4 separate regions of the Homo sapiens genome follow, and regions 1, 2 and 4 are each linked to region 3. The links are contacts of gene promoters, found by promoter capture Hi-C in human tissues and cell types (Jung and others, 2019). All regions are on one chromosome and are shown on one strand. The core of a region is centred on a gene start or on the middle of the fragment in contact, and the rest is flanking DNA. Distances in the headings are between cores, read along the strand shown.

The links. The method cuts DNA at HindIII sites, captures the fragments that hold promoters and counts their contacts. A contact is called where the count stands out against the background at its distance.
Region 1: a contact is called between a fragment that was not itself captured here and the fragment with the promoter of CIDEA in region 3, in 2 of the 25 tissues and cell types used here (IMR-90 fibroblasts and spleen).
Region 2: a contact is called between a fragment that was not itself captured here and the fragment with the promoter of CIDEA in region 3, in 2 of the 25 tissues and cell types used here (dorsolateral prefrontal cortex and lymphoblastoid cells).
Region 4: a fragment that was not itself captured here is called in contact with the fragment with the promoter of CIDEA in region 3 in 1 of the 25 tissues and cell types used here (IMR-90 fibroblasts).

Annotation. Positions count from the first base shown.
Region 1 is chr18:11,790,354-11,796,286 of GRCh38, forward strand. All of the region lies in intron 4 of GNAL (G protein subunit alpha L), which reads left to right. Among named protein-coding and RNA genes, the nearest start is that of CHMP1B, 58 kb to the right of the region's middle. RefSeq lists a silencer at 5,911-5,933. The HindIII fragment of the contact is 5,353 bases long and covers 1-4,924 here.
Region 2 is chr18:11,769,700-11,775,911 of GRCh38, forward strand. The region is part of intron 4 of GNAL (G protein subunit alpha L); the gene reads left to right. Among named protein-coding and RNA genes, the nearest start is that of CHMP1B, 79 kb to the right of the region's middle. RefSeq lists an enhancer at 5,455-5,954. The HindIII fragment of the contact is 3,169 bases long and covers 399-3,567 here.
Region 3 is chr18:12,252,605-12,258,218 of GRCh38, forward strand. It overlaps CIDEA (cell death inducing DFFA like effector a), which reads left to right and starts at 1,757. Exons shown (of 5, transcript NM_001279.4): 1 at 1,757-1,817. The coding sequence starts at 1,780. LOC105371996 (a long non-coding RNA gene) reads left to right here and starts at 2,409. Exons shown (of 2, transcript XR_935158.3): 1 at 2,409-2,827; 2 at 2,975-4,852. RefSeq lists an enhancer at 893-1,499. The HindIII fragment of the contact is 10,266 bases long and covers 1-3,113 here.
Region 4 is chr18:11,922,569-11,928,069 of GRCh38, forward strand. The region is part of intron 2 of LOC101927511 (a long non-coding RNA gene); the gene reads right to left. Among named protein-coding and RNA genes, the nearest start is that of MPPE1, 17 kb to the left of the region's middle. The HindIII fragment of the contact is 4,409 bases long and covers 857-5,265 here.

The sequences.
Region 1 (5,933 bases), core at 998-3,497, 460 kb before region 3:
TGTCAGCTCCTCACGATTCCCCCAGCTTCCAACACTCTGACATCAATGTGTCCTTGGGGATGTGTTGTTTACAATAATGTAACATTCACACTAAGATGGACTTCATTTTTAATACAGACTCATAAAGCATTTTTAACCACTTATTTTAATTCAGCAATTCTTAACTGCAAAGGAGGTCAGTGCCAAGGTGGAAATCAGTGTTAACATGTTTGATTTTTGCCTCTGAGGCCCCTTTGACACTTATGTAAAATTCTCTGGCTTCCAGCCTGGCTGATGGTTTTTCTTTTCTTTTCTTTTCTTTTTTTTTCTTTTTTTTTTTTTTTGAGACAGTCTTGCTCTGTTGCCCAGGCTGGAGTGCAGTGGCACGATCTCGTCTCACTGCAAGCTCTGCCTCCCGGGTTCACACCATTCTCCTGCCTCAGCCTCCTGAGTAGCTGGAACTACAGGTGCCCGCCACCACGCCCAGCTAATTTTTTTGTATATTTAGTAGAGACGGAGTTTCACCGTGTTAGCCAGGATGGTCTTGATCTCCTGACCTCGTAATCCGCCTGCCTCAGCTTCCCTAAGTTCTGGGATTACAGGCGTGAGCCACCGCGTCCAGCCAGCTGATGGTTTTTCAATCAAAACTATTCCAATACTTAATTTAAGAAAAACCAGAAACTACTATTTAGGATTTACAGAGCAAGATATCCAGATTTCAGGAATGAGAGGTGACTAATTCCCAGAGTTGTTTTCAAATTAAACTGTCACTTTAAAGCTGTGAAGGGAAGGCCAAACAATTTGGTTAAGCATGTCCTTTCGGCATGGTGGTGGCCATGGCTAAATGGTTTGTGTGGGTTCTTAAGCCATGGCTAGGATCCTAGTGAAGGTTTCCATGAAAGTAATGTTGAAACTCTGAAGGAAGCAACTAGCCACAGTTATTTTTAAATTTCCTGCCTGTTTGTTTCTTTGTTGCCAGCCACAGGAATGGGAACCGCTAGGTGTTTTTCCATAGCCATAGCAGAACAGGCTCCCCTGTTGAGCAGTGAAGACGCCTGGGTTAGGGGGTGAAACCAGAGAAGCCATAAGGGATGCTTTTTGCCTTCTAAACAGAAGGTTGATTATCAAGAGATCATGCTTGTTTGTTTGAAATAAATGAACTGATTTCTCCCCTGGGTGTTTCTCTTGGTAAAACATTTTAAAAGCTTTTAAAGTGGGGGAGGAACTACAACCAACTCCACACTATCTTAATAAGATACTAAGCTCAGATAGTAAACACACACAAAAAATTAAGCTACTGCATGTGATCTATTTAGGAAAGACTTTATATTAGAGAATAACAGAGTTAGCTTATAGGTGCAATCATCTAGACTGGTTAGCTGCTGTAGACAGATATCTATCAAGTTTTCTGCTTCATTGGGTTTCATTGCAAGGACTCGAAGTAGGACACAAAGGACTTCGGACTCAAGTAGCTTCCCATGTCTACCTCTGCAGTGATCCAGGTGTGCCGAGAACTCCCGAGGGTCTGCACCACATCCATAGTGCAGCACTGTCAGCCTCACCTCTCACAGGTGTCTCCCCTGGTACAGGTGTCTCCTGCACAGTTAAGCCAGTCTGTTAAAGACTGTTAATCATTTTGATTATGACTATTGTCATTTCCGATTTTAATTTCCTGCTAATTTTTTGAGTTCAGACCCACCTCTTTTGGAGACCTTTCCAACCTGTCCTGAAACTGAGCAACCTCTCCCTTTTTGGCCACTTCCTGTGGCTTTCCTAATTGGCACCATAGCTTTGGTCACGAAATTATATCCAGTACTTACTGCCTTGTATTGTTTCCTTCCTCCCTCCCTCCTTCCTTCCCTCCCTTCCTTCCTTCCGTCTTACCCTGTTTCCCAGGCTGGAGTGCAGTGGCGTGCAATCTCAGCTTACTGCAACTTCTACCTCCCGAGTTCAAGCAATTCTCATGCCTCAGCCTCCCGAGTAGCTGGGACTACAGGCGCACACCACCGCACCTGGCTAATTTTTGCATTTTTAGTAGAGATGGGGTTTCACCATGTTGGCCAGGCTGGTCCCAAACTCCTGACCTCAGGTGATCTGCCCGCCTTGGCCTCCCAAAGTGCTAGGATTACAGGCATAAGCCACTGCACCCAGCTTGTCTTGTATTGTTTTCTAATTACTTGGTATGTCTTAGCCATAGTCTCCCTACTGAAGTGTTGACTTCTTGAGAACAGGAGTATTGGCCATCTCGCCTTGTCCTAGACACATAATCTGCAAAATTACAAACTCTTTGAGGACAAGGGCACCTCTTTCTCATTCATTGCAGTATCCTAGCTCCTAGCATGGTGCCTAGCACAGAGTTAGAGCTCAATAAATATTTGTTGAATGATTGATCAATTGTTGGCACTGAGGGAATACTTGGGCATTGATTATAAGATTTGAAGGAGAGGGTAATTCTTGTCTTAAAGTGTCTTTGGCAAACTACCAACCTGGTGACATGGTGATGCAACTTCCATATGACAGAGGACACTACCAAATCCCTTAGTAACTTTAGGTATGTTTATATAGTTGGACTTGTTATATTATTGAATAGTGTCATTTTCCAATAAAAAGTTGTGGAAATTTGAGAAATAATCTAGATTGAACTAATTCTAAGAGACATATATAACTTTACTCCATATGCAAAAATTAAATCAAAGTAGATCAATCACCTAAATATAGGAGCTAAGACTATATGTAGGGGTAAATCTTCATGATCTTGGATTTGGCAGTGATTTCTTGGATATGACATCAAAAGCTTGAGCAACAAAGGAAAAAAATAGGTAAATTGGACTTCATCAAAATTTTAAAATTTGTGCATCAAAGGACATAAGAAAGCAAAAAGACAATCCACAGAATGAGATAAATATTTGTAAACTGTGTATCTGATAAGGGTCTAGTAACCAGAATATATAAAGAATTTTTGCTTGGGTGCAGTGGCTCATGCCTTTAATCTCAGCATTTTGGGAGGCTGAGGTGGGAGGATCTCTTGAGCCCAGGAGTTTGAGACCAGCCTTGACAACAATTGAGACTCCCATCTCTTACAAGACAATTTATTTTTTAATTATCCAGGCCTGGTGGCATGCACCTGTAGTTCCAGCTACTTGGGGGGCTGAGGCAGGAGGATCACTTGAGTCCACAAATTCAAGGCTGCAGTGAGCTATGATTGTGCCACCACATTGCAGCCTGAACAATAGAGCAAGATCCTGTCTCTAAAAAAATAAAAATCTACAACTCAACGACAAAAAGACAAATAATTTAAAAATGGACAAAGGGGCCAGGCGCAGTGGCTCACGCCTGTAATCCCAACACTTTGGGAGGCTGAGTCAGGCAGATCACAAGGTCAGGAGATCGAGACCATCCTGGCCAACATGGCGAAACTGTGCCTCTACTAAAAATAAAAAATTAGCTGGGCGTGGTGGCACGTGCCTGTGATCCCAGCTACTTGGGAGGCTGAGGCTGGAGCGGGAGTCAGAGGTTGCAGTGAGCCGAGATTGCACGCCACTGCACTCCAGCCTGGCGACAGTGAGACTCCATCTCGGGAAAAAAAAAAAAAAAAAAGGACAAAGGACTTGCTTAGCATTTATCCAGAGAATATATGCAAATGGCCAATAAGCACATGAAAAGATGTTCAACATCTGTTGTCATTAGGGCAACACAAATCAAAACCACAATGGGGTGCCACTTCACACCCACTAGAATTCTATAATTAACACACACACAGAAAATAACAAGTGTTGGAAAGGATGTCAAGAAATTGGAACCCTCATGCATTGCTGCTGGAAGTGCAGAATGGTGTAGCCACTGTGGAAAACAGTTTGGTTGTTTCTCAAAAGCTGAAACATAGTACTACCAAATGAACCAGCAATCCCAAAATCACTGAAAGCAGAGGATCAAACGTATCTCACATTAATGTTGATAGCAGCACTATTCACAATAGCCAAAGGGTGGAAACAACCCAATGTTCATCAACAGATGAATGGATAAACAAAATGTCTTCTATCCGTGCAAGGGAATATTACTCAGCCATCAAAAGGAACGAAGTTCTGATACTTGCCACAGCATGGATGAACCTTGAAAACAGTATGCTAAGTGACAGAAGCTAGATGTGAAAGGCCACATATTGTAATTCCAAGCATATGAAATGTCCAGAATAGGCAAATGTATAGAGACAGAAAGCAAATTGGTAGTTGCCAGGTGTTGGAGGGAAGAGGGAATGAGGAGTGACCACCTGGTGGGCACAGGATTTCCTTTTGGACTGATGAAAATGCCTTTCAACTAGAGGGGCAGTTACACAACGCTGTAAATACACTAACACCACTGAGTTGCACACTTTTAAATGGTTACTTTTATGTTATGTGAATTTCACTTCAATTAAAAACACACAGGTTAAAAAAAAAAAAAAAAAAAAAAAAAGGACAGGCCAGCCCAGTGGCTCACGCCTGTAATCCCAGCACTTTGTTTTTTGTTTGTTTGTTTGTTTGTTGTTTTTGAGACAGAGTCTCGTTCTGTCACCCAGGCTGGAGTGCAGTGGCGCGATCTTAGCTCACTGCAACCTCTGCCTCCGAGGTTCAAGCGATTCTCCTGCCTCAGCCTCCTGAGTAGCTGGGATTACCGGCGCCTGCCATCATGCCTGCCTAATTTTTGTATTTTTAGTAGAGACAGCGTTTTTCCATGTTGACCAGGCTGGTCTTGAACTGCTGACCTCAGGTGATCTGCCCATCTCAACCTCCCAAAGTGCTGGGATTACAGGTGTGAGCTACCCTGCCCAGCCTAATCCCAGCACTTTGGGAGCTGGAGGCAGCTGGATCACTTGAGTCCAGGAGTTCAAGACCAACCTGGCCAACATGGCAAAACCCCACCTCTACAAAAATTACAATAAATTAACCAGGCATGATAGCATGCACCTGTAGTCCCAGCTACTCAGGAGGCTGAGGCAGGAGGATCACCTGAGCCAGGGAGGTTGAGGACGCAGTGAGCTCACTACACACCAGCCTGGGTAACAGAGTGAGACCCTGTCTCAAAAAAAAAAAAAAAAAAAATGAACAGGCATTTAACAACATTTGTACTATCATTAGGAAAAAATAGCTTTCTTAAATTCCTGCTTATTGAAAAATAGATTGAAATAATTTATAAATATTGCAGTGTCACCAAATATCCTTCATTGATAAACTACAGATTTAAGGATGGCGACAGAAGAGCAGATGTAGTGAAAGGCTTTGTACTTAGTGTAAATGCCATTATGAGAGAAGTTCAGCTGAGACCTGTTTTAAATAGTCACTTGCTTAGATACTGAGCATGATTCTGTGTGAGGCGTCAGTCTGTGTGTCTGGCCATGTGGCTGTGTCACCAAGCTGCAGGACAGCAGGACTCTGCTGCCATCCAGGCCTCTGGTTCCTCCAGAGGTCCCTTGGCTGAGAAGAGCTCCCTGTGTTGAAGGTCTGGATGTCGCCTGGGTTCTGCAGGTCTCATCAGACTCCACTAAGAATGAAAACAACCTTCTCCAAGGAGAAATGGCCTTGCCATGGGTTAAGAGTAAAAAATTCCCATCTCACCAGCTCCAGGTGATTGGGGATAGAGCGTTCCTAGACAGTAATAGCTGATCCCTCCCAGGAATGGAGGACCCAGTTATGAGGTTCATCAAAGCTGGGGTCAGCTAACGGACACCAAGTATTCGCCCGGAAGGAGAATGCTATGGCACTGGAGGAAAGTAACCATCCCTCCTTAACCCATTCATTAACTTTATATACACAAACCACAAATTTACAGAATGGCATAGTAAGCAGGAAGCCAGTGAAAGGTGATCCCAGGCCACCAACACCACCAACAATGTGTGGTTTAATATGACAGTTGGACATGCTTGTTATAAGATTTTTTCATTTTTAAGACTGAAAAGTGCAACAAAGGAAGATAAAACC
Region 2 (6,212 bases), core at 733-3,232, 480 kb before region 3:
GTAAGTTTATGGCAAAAAGATAAACAAATGTTGGTTGCTTCAGTCATTTCCATTTCCATTTTCTCATCCCAAGTGGAGGTAAAATGATCCTTACTACAATCTTGCTTATCCTACCTATTTACACACATGTCTAAAATATACACACACACATGCACACACACTGGCACATGCAGAGGCTGAATCATGCACAAAATACGTAAATGATGAACATTTTTTTAAAAATATTACCAAATATTGATGGGATATGGCAGTGTTGTTTTTGAAAAATATGTAACATGACTTTAATATTTTTATAGTTTTCAGAATTAGAATCATAGGAAGGGAAAATGTTTTAATTAGATAATTCAACTTTTTATGTGTCTGTAGTGGTGTACTATAAAAGCAAATTATAAAGCATTATTAAATATTCATAATAATTTTTAATATTACCTGCATTATGAATTTAACTAAAATAAAGTGAGTTGTACATTTTTAATTGAGTTGTTTCAATAGCTGGAAGCATCCTGAAGCATTATATTAATTTTTGAACTATTTGAATTCAAACTGAGTATGATTTGAAAATAAATTAATAATTTAAAAACAAAAATAAAAATATTACCAAATATTAAACTTACCTCAATGATTATTCTTCAGAAACATCTGAAAAGAATGATATTTTCATAGCAAAACCTTTAGAATCATCTCTGAAAAAAGAAAAAAGGGAAAACATATTTTCTCTTAATTTTCCTCCCTACTGCCACCACCCATGTGAGAATCATATGAGTTTGACCACCCATTATTCTTGATTGTTTCTAGAGCTGTCTATGCAATCTCAGTCAAACGAGTAATTTTTAACCAGAGTATTTGTAGAAAAATAACAGTTATTTGAGTTTTCATTTTTATTAAAAATAATGTTAAAGATTTTATGGCATTATTATCAGGTTGCATTTTTTTTAATCCACAGGAGTGTACCATTACCCTAAAGAATACCTTTTAAATTATTGGGAGGTTCCTATCTCCATTTTCTCAAGCTTAAATAATCTCCTTAAATAATCTAAATTTTAGATATTATGTAAGTGTTCTAATACTTTACATATTGAATGAAGATATATCATTTTAAGGTATTTAGTTTTAAATTTAAGTTTTTTAAAAATAGTTCTTAAGGTGTTATATGTTTACTTTTTTTCTTAAATCACGTGGCATCAGCTGACATCTTTAACTGCTTGAAAGAATTAAGCCAATAAATATTATCATGGCCAGGTGCGGTGGCTCAAGCCTGTAATCCCAGCACTTAGGGAGGCCAAGGCAGGTGAATCACCTGAGGTCGGGAGTTTGAGACCAGCCTGGCCAACATGATCAAACCCTGTCTCTACTAAAAAAATACAAAAAATTAGCCAGGCGTGGTGGCAGGCCTCTGTAATCCCAGCTACTCAGGAGGCTGAGGCAGGAGAATTGCTTGAACCTGGGAGGCAGAGGTTACAGTGAGCCGAAGTCGTGCCACTGCTCTCCAGCCTGGGCAACAAGAGTGAAACTCTGTAAAAAAAAAAAAAAAAGAAAAAAAGAGATTATCATTAGTGTTTCTTATTTCTTTGGTTAAAATGTTATAGTGAGTAGTGTGTTATATCATCATGTGAATTTTCATAACTTATTGGAAGTTAATGTTAATGTTAACATTAACTAATTGGAAGTTAATGATAATGAAATTAATCATTATCAGTTTTATATGAACAGGCATTTCATTTTTTTTTCTAAATGATGACCTGATATGTGTCAGGAACTATGTTCAGCATTGGAAATACTAAGCTGAATTGTGTACACCCACGGGAATTCTCACAGGGCTCACAGAGCTTAAACCCCTAGGACACACTGTCATGTTGGCAAGGGGAAGGTGGACACAGCCCTTTGGGAGAAATAGTGGTGCTATCCCAGGGAAGGTGAGGGGTGGCCTGGCCTTTGAAGAATGGGTGAATTCAGCAGGTAGACCAGGGACAGTGGCAAGTGCAGTATGGCCAGCACAGCCCTGTGTGCAAATTTTTTTGTTGTTTGTTTGTTTTGAGATGGAGTCGCACTCTGTCACCCAGGCTGGAGTATAGTGGTGCGATCTCAGCTCACTGCAACCTCCTCCTTCTGGGTTCAAGCGATTCTCCTGCCTCAGCCACCCCAGTAGCTGGAATTACAGGTGTGTGACACCATGCCTGGCTAATTTTTTTGTTTTTTTTAGTAGTAGAGATCAGGTTTCGCCATGTTGGCCAGCCTGGTCTCGAACTCCTGACCTCAGGTGATCTACCTGCCTCAGCCTCCCAAAGTGCTGGGATTACTGGTGCCCCGCCCCTGTGTGCAAATTTGGACACCGCAGAGGTGCTCCTTCTCAGAAGTCCCCCACATCATACAAATCATTTCAAGAGCATCTAGCCCTACAGGAAGATCATGGAGAGACATTCTTGGACTTTTTTATTACACTTGCTCCAGTGTAAAATTTTATGGTATGAATACAGTATGACTATTATAGCAGAAATAAATAAAAATACCAGGACAGATAATAGAAAAGAGTTGTAAGAAATTCAGGAAATGTATGTGCTTCAATAAAAAGAATGCTTTAAATTGTCCTAGTTGATTTTATTGAAGGTAAATTTGAAATTCCATACTTAGTATTTAAGTCAAATTACCACTCATGCTTCTCTTGTGGTTCTCTTTACTGAGAAATTCAGGAGACTGCATCTTTGCAGGTTTCTCACTTCAATTCCATGCCCATCAGTTTGCCCCCAGTGCCGTCCTGTTCCAGGTGATCATAGGGCCAAATAGAGTTGATGTCTCCATTGTGTTTTGACCAAGCTTCCCCATCTGTGCTCTTTTGGTGGCTTTGCCTCTAATCTTAGCATTTCAGCTGGAAGCGCACTTAGGTGTGTCTGATCCAAGACTTCCTCTACAGATGAGCAGGGCATTAGCGCAACTCTCTACGAGACTTGTCCAGGGTCATCCAGATGTGCTGACCTGGAGGCAAAGCCAGGACTAGAACCGAGTCTCCCGATTCCTCATCCAGTTCTCTTCTTGTCGCTTCCATTCATGCAGGGTGCGGGTCTGCATTTATACAGCGGAGTTTCATTATCTATTAGGTTGAACTATTAAAAATTGCCAATATTTGGCCAATTTTGAGCTCTGATATGGCAGTTTCTTACGGTTCAACCCGTTAGATTAAATGTCACCTGTCAGTCTCTCATTACAGTCCCTTACATCCCTGTCCTGCGAAGACAGCATTGCCATCGAGTGGTAGGTATCCTCCCTGCGGACAGAGGCCCCGTCACAGTGGGCCCAGCCCTGCCCTTCTATGCTACAGGCTCAGGTCTGCACCTGCCTTTGTGCTTCACTCTCAGCAGTGACATCTGCTGCATCCCTCACTTGCCACCATCATCTCTACTGGGAGCCTTCCCTGACCTCTGAGATGAGAGGCAGCCAGTTCTCCCAAAGACACACAGCCCCTGGGTTGTCTGGCACCAAGGTGTCCCCTTACCAGGGCTTGCACGTCTCATGTCCACTGCCCACCCATAGTTACCCATTTTTTGTGGCTAAGCACATAACATGCTCACTTACCTACAATTGCAACAACTAGAAGTTAGAGCAGTCTGTTTAAAAGGCTTTGTGTAAATCACCCTGAAAGATTCCTGGTATGTGTTGGAGCAGGAGATAAACGGGATGACACACTACATAACCAGTCTCTGAAATGGTCCCCACGGTAGGCTTGATATTGTTTCTTAAGGCTCTTTTTTGAAAAGAGAGGAAACAAAATAGTACCAAAAATCTCATAATAGGCCAGATGCAGTGGCTCATCCCTTTAATCCCAGCACTTGGGGAGTCCGAGGTTGGAGGAACGCTTGAGTGCAGGAGTTCAAGACCAGACCAGCCTGGGCAAAATTATGAGACCCCATCTCTACAAAAAATCTTGTATAAAAATAAAAAAAATAGCCGGGCATGGTGTTGTATGCCTGTGGTCCCAGCTTTTCGGGAGGCCAAGGCAGGAGGATCACCTGAGCCCAGGCAGTCAAGACTGTAATGACCTATGATTGCAGCACTGTGCTCTAGCCTGATGACAGAGGAAGACCTTGTCTCAAAAGAAAAATCTCACAATAGTTTTACGCATATGATTATATAAAAACAATCGCATCTGAGTAATTTCGGTGACTAGAGTAAAAGTTCCTTAACATTATGGTTAAGAGTGCAGACTTTGCAATTGGTCTCACCTCTGCCTCTTCCTGTCTATGTAACCTTGGTTGAGTTAATTAGTATCTCTATGCTCAGTTTCCTCATCTGTAAAATGGGGATAATAATAATAATGCCTAGCACATGAAGCTTTTTGGGGGAATTAAATACAATAATACATCTGAAGTGCTGGGCCCTGTGCCTGACACACCTTAAACATTCAGTAAATGTGAGATGTCATCCTGGTCACCCTTCACCATGCGTAATGTTATGTGTGTGTGCTGCCTTTTCAGACGTTGCCGAGTGCTGAAGCCACGCACGGGGCCCAGTTTGACTCGGCACGTCTTGGTGTGGCCGAAGAACAAGCCTGGCTCTGAATTAAGAGTCAGGCTGTGGTGTTTTCAGGGAACTTTCTCTGCCTTCTGTCAGTTTTCAAGGCTTGGCATTGCATGGGAAGAGTCAACAAATACTATATTCTGCAGAAAGTATTGTGGTCTGAAATAGTGTAGACTAAAATATAAAGAAAAACCAAATTGGGATTTTAAAATGCATGAGCGCCCATCTAAAAGAGCCACCTACGCCTTGGTTTTCCTCTTTTTTGGTGAAGTTGATAAATTGGCTTGATACCAATGAAAATGGCGACCACTGCTTGAACAGCACTTCATGCCAAGAACTGCCCTAAGCTGTATAACTGCAGCAATCTTATGGGTGGAGAATGGTGGCTCATTTCATATGTGAGAAAACAGAAGCCCAGAGAACATAATTGACTTGCCCCGAGTCATAGAGCTGGGTAGAGAATGGTTCAGAATTTGAGCCCAGGCAGCCTGACCCCAGAGCCTGTCCCCCTGTGTACTGTGAGGTGACCTTTCTGGGTTTAAGAATCACGGGTCCAGGTTATACACTGTATCAGCCTTGTTGCAGCTACAAGCTTGGTGTGGTCACTTCACCATCCCTCATTTTGATTTTTGTTTGCAGAGTTTAGGTCGATAGACATTGCGGGTATATTTCTAAGTCTTATTGAGGAAATAATCAGTCCATGAGTGCCTGTAGCTCACTACATGAGCCATCTATCTGGAGATGGGCAGGGCTCACACAGCACAGGCCATCTTTCAGTTCTGCACCTGATGGACAGCACCTCTTCCTGCGGCAGAGCCTGAGTGGCCATCGCTCGGCTCAGCCCAGTGCGAGGCAGAGAGTCCTGCTGAATCTCCCCTTGACTAATGGCTTCTTTCTAATTCCTGATTTACTGAAGACAGCCTTTCTGTCTTGAAGGAATTACTCTGTGGCATTTCCCAGTCTTAGCAAGTGGTTCTGGGGGGCCCTGATGAAAGCACTGTGTTCTGGCGAACTGAGAACCAACTGTGGACCCTTGCTTTGTTTGAGGGCCAGGGGTGGCCAGGAGGGTTTCTCTGCAGAGTCCACACCTCACCCATATGCACACACTGGGAGGAAATATTTTTCAACCATTGGTTTAACCATTGAATAGTTAGCTTTGTAGTACTTACTCCTCTGAGATTTTACGCAGATGATCTCACTTAATCCACACACATGCACGCCCCCGTGTAGTAGCCACCATGGCGGTCCCCTGACGGGGTAGATACGTGGCCCGTGTCACACAGCATGTGCAGCAGGGCTGGGACTTGGCGCCAGGGCCTACACTCTGAGCCACAATGTCTAAGCCCTACCTCACCCAAAAAGATTCCTCTAAGTCTGTGTCAGATTAGAAATGAAGAGGGGACAAAGAGAAGTACCACGGACAGCAAGAAAAGAGGAAGATGCACATCAGAACTCATAAAGCAAGTCCCTCAAGAGGCATTCTGTGTGGGGGCAAATTCCCAGGGGTTCCCGGTGTCTACAACACAAATACAGTGACTGACGCAAGATCCTATGTCCTCAAGGAGAGAGAGGAGGTGAAATTCCAGTGTTTTCATTTCGTAAGAAGGCAGAGATGTATGGAATGCTTCAGGAAGATTTCCATTCAAGAGTTTATGTGGGAAAAAAGTTTTATTGCTGAAAGAATGATGTCCCTAAGTATCCAG
Region 3 (5,614 bases), core at 507-3,006:
CTCTCTTATCTATCTATCTATCTATCTATCTATCTATCTATCTATCTATCTTATATATAGATAGATAGATATATACACACAAACAGATTTTTTTCTTTCTTTAGAGAGAAAGTCTCACTCTGTTGCCCATATTGGAGTGCAGTGACATGATCACAGCTCACTGCAACCTCAAACTCCTGGGCTCAGGTGATCCTCCCTCCTCAGCCTCCTGAGTAGCTAGCACTACAGGTGCTCGCCGTCATGCTTGGCTAATTATCGTTATTTTTGTGTAGAGATAGTAGTCTCACAGTGTTACCCAGGCTGGTCTCAAATTCCTGGCTTCAAGCCATCCTCCTGTTTTGGCCTCCCAAAGTACTGGGATTACAGATGTAAGCCAGTACCCTCAGCCCTGTTCTTTCTATGTATCTCTATATTTGAACTTTTTCACAATAAAAAGGTTAGAGGTAAGTTGACCTGAATTGATTGGACCCATTTTCTCATCCATCACATTGGGGCTGTGAGTGGGAGGGGCAGTGAATGACCTCCTAAAGCTGTGTCCGCTCAGTGCCTCTGGGGGAAGCTGCCCCCTGTGAGCCTGGAGCTGGGTGTTCCCAGCAGGCGGAGTCCTTGACTCTGGAAGGCAATTGCCTTTGGCTTCAACAGTCCTGCAAGTCACAAGGCTTGTTGACCACGGTGACCCTTTCTGAGAGCCAGCGGAGGAAGAGGGCGGGCATAGGGTCAGGTCTTAAGAGATCAGGTCAGTCTGCTCAAACCAGGTGGGCTCAGGAGGAGCCGGCGAGGGTCCCGCTGCAGCTCCCGAAACGCTGTTTCCAGGCGGCAGTCAGCAGTTGGGCACGAGAGGATATCCTAGCAAGCCTCCATCCCAGAAAGTTACACCTCTTACTGCCCGAGTCCCACCCCTCAACACTGAGCCCACCTCTTCAGTCCTGTAGTGAGGGGTTCTGGGAACCCCTTGTAACTGCCCGCCTTCCTCGGAGGTCTCAGAGGCCCTAATTGCGTCTTCCGATGGGAACAACCATGAGAGCAGGGTGTGGACGGAAGTCCCCCAGCCCCAGCGGGGTTCACTCTTTGCCTCCTCACTCTGCGAGGGTCCCTTACTACAGCTAAAAGGCAATTCATGCAGTCCAAAGGCTCCTTTCCCCTCCCGTTCTGCATGCCCTTCTCACTGTCCCCAAATGCTCATGACATGGCCTTGAGAGCAGCGCAGCGGGCAGGAAGCCCAGGCGCCTCGGAGAACCTGAAGGGCTGCAGGTCCCGGTGTCTGCGGCAGCTTCCGCATCCCTGCAGGGAACCAGCGGCTCGCTGAGCCTGGGGCTGGGCTCTGGGGGACTCCAGAGCTGGAGGCAAGTGGCGCTCACATCCGTCTCCTCACCTGCCCCACCCGTGGCCTGGGTTTAAAATCCACATACCCGTCTTTCCGCGGCCAAAGTGATGCTGCCAGGATTGGTTATGACCCCAACTGCCCCGACCCCCAGAAGTGCAAAACGAACAGGCTGGCAAGTGACCAAAAGAGACCCGGGGAGCATCTGGGCTTCCAAGGTCCTCGGTACGGCCCAAGGCAGCGAAGGACGCGCGGCTCCAGGCTGCGGGAGCCAGGACGACCGGGGGCTCCCAGAGCGCGAAGTCGCGATCCTCGGCGGTGGAGAGCTCGTGCCAAAACGTCCTCCCCTGCGCCAGTCAGGCCTTCGCGGGGCTGGCAGGCGGGCGGGGGCGGGGCCGCCGCACTTTAAGAGGCTGTGCAGGCAGACAGACCTCCAGGCCCGCTAGGGGATCCGCGCCATGGAGGCCGCCCGGGACTATGCAGGAGCCCTCATCAGGCGAGTGCCCCGCGTCCCCCTGATTGCCGTGCGCTTCCAATCGCCTTGCGTTCGGTGGCCTCATATTCCCCTGTGCGCCTCTAGTACCGTACCCCGCTCCCTTCAGCCCCCTGCTCCCCGCATTCTCTTGCGCTCCGCGACCCCGCGCACACACCCATCCGCCCCACTGGTGCCCAAGCCGTCCAGCCGCGCCCGCGGGCAGAGCCCAATCCCGTCCCGCGCCTCCTCACCCTCTTGCAGCTGGGCACAGGTACCAGGTGTGGCTCTTGCGAGGTGCGCGGGCGTCTGCAAACCAGGTGACAGCTGGCGAGTGGCTGCATGCATCTCTGGCCGCTGCTGCAGTCGCGGGCGCAGAAGAGGGTCCGGTCCCAGGAACCCCGAGCAAAGCTTCCGCGATGCGAGGGGACCGGGCTTCTGGGGGTCCTGGAAATCACAACGGGAGCTGGGCGCGGGAGGGGCCCAGGCTTGGCCCCTCCTGGAAGCGCGGGCTCTGGTCTCCGAGGGGAGGCCCCAACCGTCCGGCGGAGCCCTCCAGGTTGGTGGTGCTGGGAGAAGCGCTCCTCCTTGCCTCCGGGTCCAAGGGCGGAGACGCTGCCTGGGGAGCAGGGGGGACAAGGGGCGGGTGGACCCTGAGGAGTCTTCCCTGCGCTTCGCACCCGCTCGTGGTCGAACAGGCAGCATTGGCTATTTTCCTGCTTGGGTTAATATTCATATCCCAACAGACCCAAGCCAATTCTTGGTAAAATCCTAAGTCATTGCGTGGCAGCAACTGTAAAGTAAGGTCTAAGAGGGAGATCGTGTTTCTCTGAAGATCAAGTACCTGGAAAAGGATAGAGAACCATTTGCGGGCTTGAAGGTGCAGGCGTTCAGCGGCGCCGGGTCCCACTGTGTGTGCTACGTGTGGCGGGCAGAGAGACTACATGTGTGAAAGGGAGCGGTCCGGCTACGAAACGCAATCTATGAGCTTCCAATCCCGGGTTCTTAAATGGGAGCTGTTGTAGACACTGCAGGTTAGAAGCATCTTTCTCTTTAAAAATAAGCCCACAGTACAAGTCGGGGCGGTGGCAGGGGGACGCTGAGAAACACCTGCTTCGTGTATGGTCATTAACACGCTTAGGCCTAAAGGTCAGGGCCCTGTATCTTTTGCGTTCTTCCAGAACCATCCACACCACAGTCCCACTTCCAGGAGGGGAGGTCTTAGCAGTTTGGAATGCGTCCTTCCAACCACTTTTCCAGTGAATTCACAACACACCCACTGTTCCTCCGGAGCATGGGGGAAGGAGGTGTGGGCTGACTCGCACTAACCAATCCTGGTTGGCCTCTGAGCAGGATTCAGGCTGAGCCTGTCCCTGCCTCTGACTATTATAACAGCTCACCAAAATCCAAAATGCATCTGTGTGGGGTCTCTGTGAGGTCGTGTGAAGTGGAAGTGACTTGCTTATGAGCTGTTGACAAATGAAACATTGGGAAACCTTGAGTCTCCTAGGACACATTCCTTCCAGCTTGGCTCATCCCAGGAGTGAATGACTCTACCTGTTATGGACAAGCTGTTGCTGCAGTTCTTTGAAATCTACCTGCTTCCAGGCTGAACTACTGTCATTCTGTGAAATCTACCTGCTCCCAGGCTGAACTACTGTCATTCTGTGAAATCTACCTGCTCCCAGGCTGGACTACTGTCATTCTGTGAAATCTACCTGTTACCAAACTAAACTGGAAGAAAACAATCTGTAATTCTTGTTGAAGGGAAAACACCTTTTCTTCCCTGCCCCTCTCTAAAACCCTGTCCGGGCAAAAGAGCCAGAGGCCAGGTCCTAACATATTTGCTAATTGTGCTCTTGCTGGACTTCGGCTTCCTCTCAGGGTTCCTTAATTTAAACCAGGTCCAGGATGTCATAATTCTGTCTTTATTAGTAACTACATTTTACCAAGGAAAGAACCGAATCAATGTGCACAAAAATTTTTAAAAATCAGGTACTTGTAGTCAGTGGTGAAACCTTAACCCAGGCATTTGTTAGTCAGCTAGAATCGTTAGGGGCCTTGGTCCTGAGGAAAGCAGCCTGAGGTCTCACAACAAAGCTCCAGACATCAAGGAGGTCCACATGCAGGTTGACTATCACAGACAAAGTCTGCTCTGTTCCTGTGTTCTGCCAGTGATAACATTCCTGCCAAACGCTGAAGTTGTTATGAAGCTGGTACATGTTATAAGCTTCGTGTGAAATGGCTGCTTTCATAGCTATCTAGCACATTTTTCCTTTCCTTGAACAAGGAACTCTAGGTTTTGTGCTGCTATTTCAGTACAAATTTCACCAGTCTTCTTAGTGACATTAGTAAGGAATTAAGTATGCTACAAGTCAATCTCTCAGCTTTCTGCTTCTTGAATTTAAATTCTTATTTTAACGAAACTGCAAAGTGTTCAAAGACTTCATGGTCATGTATTGAACACTTGATAATGTCAAGCCTTTAGGTAGCTTGCGAAGAACTGAGCCATGAACCAGGCAGTCCTTGTCGGGGCGAGTTTATCTGGGGGGTAGGTGTGCTCCCACCTGCATATGTCACGTCCAAGAGCCCTAGGGGAGCCGGGCAGCAGGAAGTCTCGTCAAGGCAGCACTTGCTTCCCTGCTTCCTGCCACTGACCCCACCATCCTCTGACACTGTCTCTACAGCTCAGGGACTCTTCTCCAGGCCTGTGGAGCACTTTCCCAGCCCTCCCTTCCTTCTCTGCGTGGCTGTGCTTGACCTCACACTTCCCTCCTTGGCATTCCCTGCTGCTCTTGGTGACAGTGCTCGGTTGGCTTCTGTCCAATTCCTGTGTACTGCTTCTTCCTCCCACGGTGGCTGCCTCTTTTTCTTCCTAATGATGAGATGCAGAGTTCCCTCAGCCATCACTGCCCCCTGAATATTCCCAGGCACTATTTTACACAGCCTGTACTGCTGCCCCCTCACCCATGACACCAAAATATTTCACTTTGAGGAAGACCTTAATACTGGGCCCTTTTCCTCCATAGGTGGCATGTAAAGAAAGCTTTTTAATTCTCTGTACGGCTCAGGTTTGTTTTACTGGAGAAGAGTTCAGGTCTACTGTCAGTCTGTGGCTTGTTGGTGTATTTCACACACTTTTGGAAGTTGGCGGCGCCCTGCCTCCCTCGGGGCAGAATACAAAACCTTCCCTTCCCACCTGTTCCTGAGAGACATGCCGTTTCACAGCGTTCTATGAAGTCTGACTTTTCCTCTCTGGATTTCTGTGAAACAGCCTACTTCCTTAAACAAACTGTTTCCTTATATCTTCCCTGTTAGAGGGTTATTTCCCTTTCTGTTTCCTGTGGTTGTGTGCCCCCACTTTCACAGGAATTAGGAGCGGCAGTTCTCATGTGTGGTGTGTCTAAACGCAGGATCCTAGGGCCGCTCAGTGGCCCTGCTTTTAGGCACGGTGCTGATGGCCAGTGATAGAGATGACTCTACTCAGCGGGCTGGAGGTGACTTGGGTGGAGACGGTGGCTTGTTCATGTAGCAGCAGATTCGGTACCTGTAGGGTCCTGGAGTACATAGGCCTGGCGTGCAGAACATCTCATTCAACCCCTTTCTGTGTTACATATGAGACAGCCTTGATTTTACATAATTTGACCCAGAAATCACTCACCTCCTCCTTGACAAGAAGGTGGGGTGTAAATTTCCTTTCCTCTGTGCCCCCACCAGCCTTTCCTCCAGCAGTGACGCAGCTCTTGGTTTGGAAATGCTACAGGTGAGAACAATAGGTGTTTTTTCACTGACGATGGCAATCTTGAGGGCAGGTGAAGGCA
Region 4 (5,501 bases), core at 1,811-4,310, 330 kb before region 3:
CGCCACTCTCCTGCCTCAGCCTCCCGAGTAGCTGGGACTAAAGGTGCCTGCCACCACGCCTGGCTAGTTTTTTGTATTTTTAGTAGAGATGGGGTTTCACCGTGTTAGCCAGGATGGTCTCGATCTCCTGACCTCGTGATCCGCTCGCCTTGGCCTCCCAGAGTGCTGGGATTACAGGCGTAAGCCACTGCTCCCGGCCTAAAGACATCTTATATTTACATTAATAACAGCCAACAGCCCTAAAACTCATGCCTAAACCAAGCTTATCTAACACACATATTTTCTCTGTAAGGCACATCACAGCCTTCTTGCTCTTAGGAACACTAGCCAGCACGAAGACACTGTGCTTGGGGCCTTTTCAACAGCAAAATCAACAGGAAGCACAAAAATGTGGCAAAATGACACTAACTAGACCATGCTAAGGAAGCTTGTTCACAGCGTTAGCCGAAACAAGAAGGCCGAGCATCGCCTTGTTCCACCTCAGCTGGGAACGTGCATTTGGGCAACTCAAATCTTGTGTCACTCATGCATGCCTGTGAATTACCTCAAAAGCACTGTGAGTATTGACTTTGGGGTTACATGTGAATTTTGGCGAGTAGGCAGATTTGTCAAGTCCAAATTTATGAATCATGAGAGTCAACTGTAAATGCATGCTTAAGAAGCATTACTCTAGCAGGAAAGCAAGACACAAAATACAGTCATGCATCAAATAACGATTTGGTCAATGATGGATTGCACATACAAACAAGCAGTCCCATAAGATTATAATGGAAATGAAAAATCCCTATTGTCTAGTGATGTCAGTGCCATAGTAAAGTTGTATAGCAACGCATTGCTCATGTGTTTGTGGCGGTGCTGGTATAAACACACCTGCTTCACGGCCAGTCATGTAAAAGTCCAGTACATGCAATTATGTGCGGTACATCATACTTGATAATGACAGCGAATGACTTTCGCTGGTTTATGTATTTACCATGCTATTTTCCTTATCATTACATTAGAGTATATACTCATTCTGCTTATAAACAAAAGTGAACAGCCTCAGACAGGTTCCTGCAGGAGGTGCTTCAGAAAGCATTGTTATCTTGTTGTCACAGGAGGTGACAGCTCCATGTGTGTTACTGTCCCTGAAGACCCTATAGTGAGACAAGATGTGGAGATGAAAATCAGTGATATTGATGATCCTGAGCCTGTGTAGGCCTAGGCTAAGGTAGATGTTTGTGTCTTATTTTTAAATAAAACATCTGAAAGGTAAAAAGAAAAAAAAATTTAAATAGAAAAAAAAGCTTATAGAATAAGAATATAAAGAAGTTATATATATATATATATATATATTTATTTATTTATTTATTTATTTATTTATTTATTTATTTTTTGAGACAGAGTCTTGCTCAGTCACCCAGGCTGGAGTGCAGTGGCGCAATCTCCACTCACTACAAGCTCCACCTCCTGAGTTTGTGCCATTCTCCTGCCTCAGCCTCCCGAGTAGCTGGGACCACAAGTACCCGCCACCACGCCCAGCTAATTGTTTTGTTTTGTTTTTTTTTGTATTTTTAGTAGAGACGGGGTTTCACCGTGTTAGCCAGGATGCTCTCGATCTCCCAACCTTGTGATCTGCCCGCCTAGGCCTCCCAAAGTGCTGGGATTACAGGCTTGAGCCACCACGCCTGGCCAAGAAAGAAAATATTTTTGATTAGCCAGGCATGATGTTATATACCTGTAGTCCCAGCTACTCTGGAGACTGAGGCAGGAGGATCACCTGAGCCCGGGATTTTGAGGTTGTCATGAGCTATGATCACACCAATGCACTCTAGCCTGGGGAATAAAACAAGACTGTCTCAAAAAAAAAAAAAAGAAAGAAAGAAAGAAAGAAGGAAAGAAAGAAAGAAAGAAAGAGAAAGAAAAAGATATGTTTGGTTCAGCTGTACAATGTGTTTGTGGTTTAAGCTGTGTTATTACAAATTACTCAAAAAGCTTTTAAAAATTAAAAAGTCTTCTAAGTTAAAGTTATTGTAAGCTAAGTTTAATTTATTCTTTTAAAAGACTTAGGAAATTTAGTATAGCTTAAGTGTACAGTGTTTATAAAGTCTACAGTAGTGTATAGTGATGTTCTAGGCCTTCACCTTCACCCACCACTCACTCACTGACTCAAGAGCAACTTCCAGTCCTGCAAGCTCCATTTATGGTAAATGCCTATACAGGGGGTAGCATATTTTCTCCTTTATTTATTTATTTATTTATTTTTGAGACAGAGTTTTGCTCTTGTTGCCCAGGCCGGAGTGCAATGGCGCAATCTCGCTCACCGCAACCTCCGCCTCCCGGGTTCAAGCGATTCTCCTGCCTCAGCCTCCTGAATAGCTGGGATTACAGGCATGTGCCACCACACCCAGCTAATTTTGTATTTTTAGTAGAGACGGGGTTTCTCCATGTTGGTCAGGCTGGTCTTGAACTCCCAACCTCAGGTGATCCACCCACCTCAGCCTCCCAAAGTGCTGGGATTACAGTTGTGAGCCACCGAGCCCGGCTTCTCTTTTATACTGTATTTTTATTGAACCTTTTCTGTTTAGATACACAAGTACTGACCATTGTGTTTCAACAGCCTGCAGTATTCAGGACAGCCACGTGCTGGGCAGGTTTGTAGCCGAGGAGTAATAGGCTATATCGTATAGCCTGGGTGTATAGTCAGCTGTACCATCTAGGTTGTGTAAGTACACTCTGTGATGTTTGCCTAATGAGGCACTTCCCAGAACTTATCCCCATGGTTAAGCAATGCATGACTATAAATGAAACATGAATAAGATCAAGATGTAAATGGTGGCTGGGGGCAGTGGCTCACTCCTGTAATCCCAGCACTTTGGGAGGTGAGGCGGGTGGATCACTTGAGGGCAGGAGTTCGAGACCAGCCTGACCAACATGGCGAAACCTTGTCTCTACTAAAAATACAAAAATTAGCCAGGCATGGTGGCACACGCCTGTAATCCCAGCTACTTGGGAGGCTGAGGCAGGAGAATCACTTGAACCCGGGAGGTGGAAGTTGCCATGAGCTGAGATCACGCCACTGCACTCCAGACGGGGCAACAGAGCGAGACTCCATCTGTAAGAATTAAAGAGGAAAGAAACATGAAAAGCAGCTCAACAGTCAAAGACAGGTTTATTTTGGAAAATAAACTTGAGAGGGGCTTCTGGCCATTTTTGGTCAGGAGCGCTTTCTCTTATAGACTAAGAGTATTTATTGGTTTTAGGGTGAGGGAGCTTATCACAGGCTCAGAATGTTTCTGCATGAGGGAGAAGTTTATTTTGGGGTTGGAACGTCTCTAGTTGGACGGGAGGTTATCTTGAGGCTGACATCTCTCTGGCCTGTGGGGAGGTTATCTCGGGGATGGCATGTCTCTGGTCGGGGAGGTGTTTATCTTGTGGTTGGAATGTTTCTGGCCAGAGTTGTCATTTGTGGTTTATGGCCATGCTGACCTTAGCCATTAGGCTGATGCCCTTTGGATTTAGGTGGTTTTTGATCAAGGGGGACTTTAGAAGGACAGTGCTTGTCCAAGACGGCGATCCTCCTGCCCTGTCACCATCTCCCCCACCACAAAGAAAAAGATGTAAATTGAATCTGAACCTGTATTCGTTCCCTATTGCTGCTCTAAGAAACTATTGGTAAACACAGTAGCTTTGGGCAGGGCATGATGGCCCCGGCAGGCTGAGGCAGGAGGATGGTTTTAGCCCAGCGGGTGGAGGCTGGAGTGAGCTATGATCGTGCTGCCGCACTCTAGCCTGCACAACAGAGTGAGACCCTGTCTCAAAAAATGATAATAATACAAAATAAACATAGTCGTTTGAAAAAGCACCAATTTATTATTGAAAAAGCACAAATTTATTAATGCTGAAGATTGGAAGCCCAACACAGGTCTTACTGGACTAAAATAAAGAGGTCGACAGGACCGTGTTCTTTCTGGAAGCCCTAGGAGAGACTCCATTTCCTCACCTTTCTCAGCATCTAGAGGCTGCCCACATTCCTTGGTTCTTGGTCCCTTCCTTCATGTTCGAACACAGCAACAGTGGTTGAGTTCTTTCCAGATGGCACCACTCTGATATCCTCTTCTGCCTCCCTCTTCCACGTTTAAGGATTTATGTGATTACACTGTGTCCATCTGGATCATGTCCCACTTTTAAGATCAGCTAATTAGCAACTGAGGGTTTTTTTTGGCTGGGCATGGTGGCTCACGCCTGTAATCCCAGCACTTTGGGAGGCCAAGGCGGGTGGATCACCTGAGGTCTGGAGTTTGAGACCAGCCTGGCCAACATGGTGTAACCCCATCTCTACTAAAAATACAAAAAATTAGCCAGGCGTGGTGGTGGGCACCTGTAATCCCAGCTACTCGGGAGGCTGAGGCAGGAGAATTGCTTGAACTTGGGGGACAGAGGTTGCAGAGAGCTGAAATCGTGCCATTGCACTCCAGCCTGGGAAACAAGAGTGAAACTCCATCTCAAAAAGAAAAAAAAAACAACTGAGGGTTTTTTCTTCCTCTTGACATCAACCGTGTCTTTTCCAACACCACTTCTCCAACTCTCTGATGCCAGCTTGGTGTCCTACAATTCAATTCCTTTCTGACACTACCTGGAGTTATTGTGTGACTCCACAGTCACACAAGACTGTCCTTAGACACCAAAGAAAGGACTGGGTTCCCAGGTTAGCCTAACTTCTGCTGATTGACCTACAAAGGAAAGTTCCTACAAAGAGGTTTCAACTACCTCATTACCCCAAGGTTAAATAATTTGCTAGAATGACTCACAGAACTCAGGAAAAGCTGTGCTTACTCTTACCGTTTATTATAGAGTACAAATGAACAACCAGATGAAGAAGTACCCAGGACAAGGTAAGTCCCGAGTGCAGAAGCCACTGTCTCAGTCAAGATGGGGTGCACCACCCTCTGGGATGAGGATGTGTTTGCCAACTTGGAAGCTCCCTGAACCCCATCATTTAGGGGCTTCTATGGAGGCTTCAGTCCATAGGTTTGACTGTGGCCACTGGTGATCAGCTCAATCTCCAGCCACTCTCCCTTCCCTGGAGGTTGGGGGAGGGGGTGCAGGAAATGCTGATCTTCTAATCAAGCTTGGTCTTTCTGGCAGCCAGCTCCCACCCTGAAGCTAAGTACAAGAGTTGCCTCACTAAAACAAAAGAGGCTCTTAACACTCTATTGCTCAAAATTCCAAGGGTTTAGAGCTTTGTGCCAGAAACCAGGGACAACGACCAAATATCTTTCTTGTTATTCCACAGCAATATCAGTTCCATCTACAACCCTGATTCCCCTTTGCCATGAAAGGTAACACATTGGCAGGGCCTGGGGAGTTGGACATGACTATCTGAGGGGCACTATTCTGCCTGCCCCAGCATCTAACATTAAAGATAGCAGCTCAGGAAGCTTGGCAGGGTGGCATTATGGAGTGGGGATTGCAGGGCTGATTAAACGACCATAATCAGGCTGGGCGCCGTGGCTCACGCC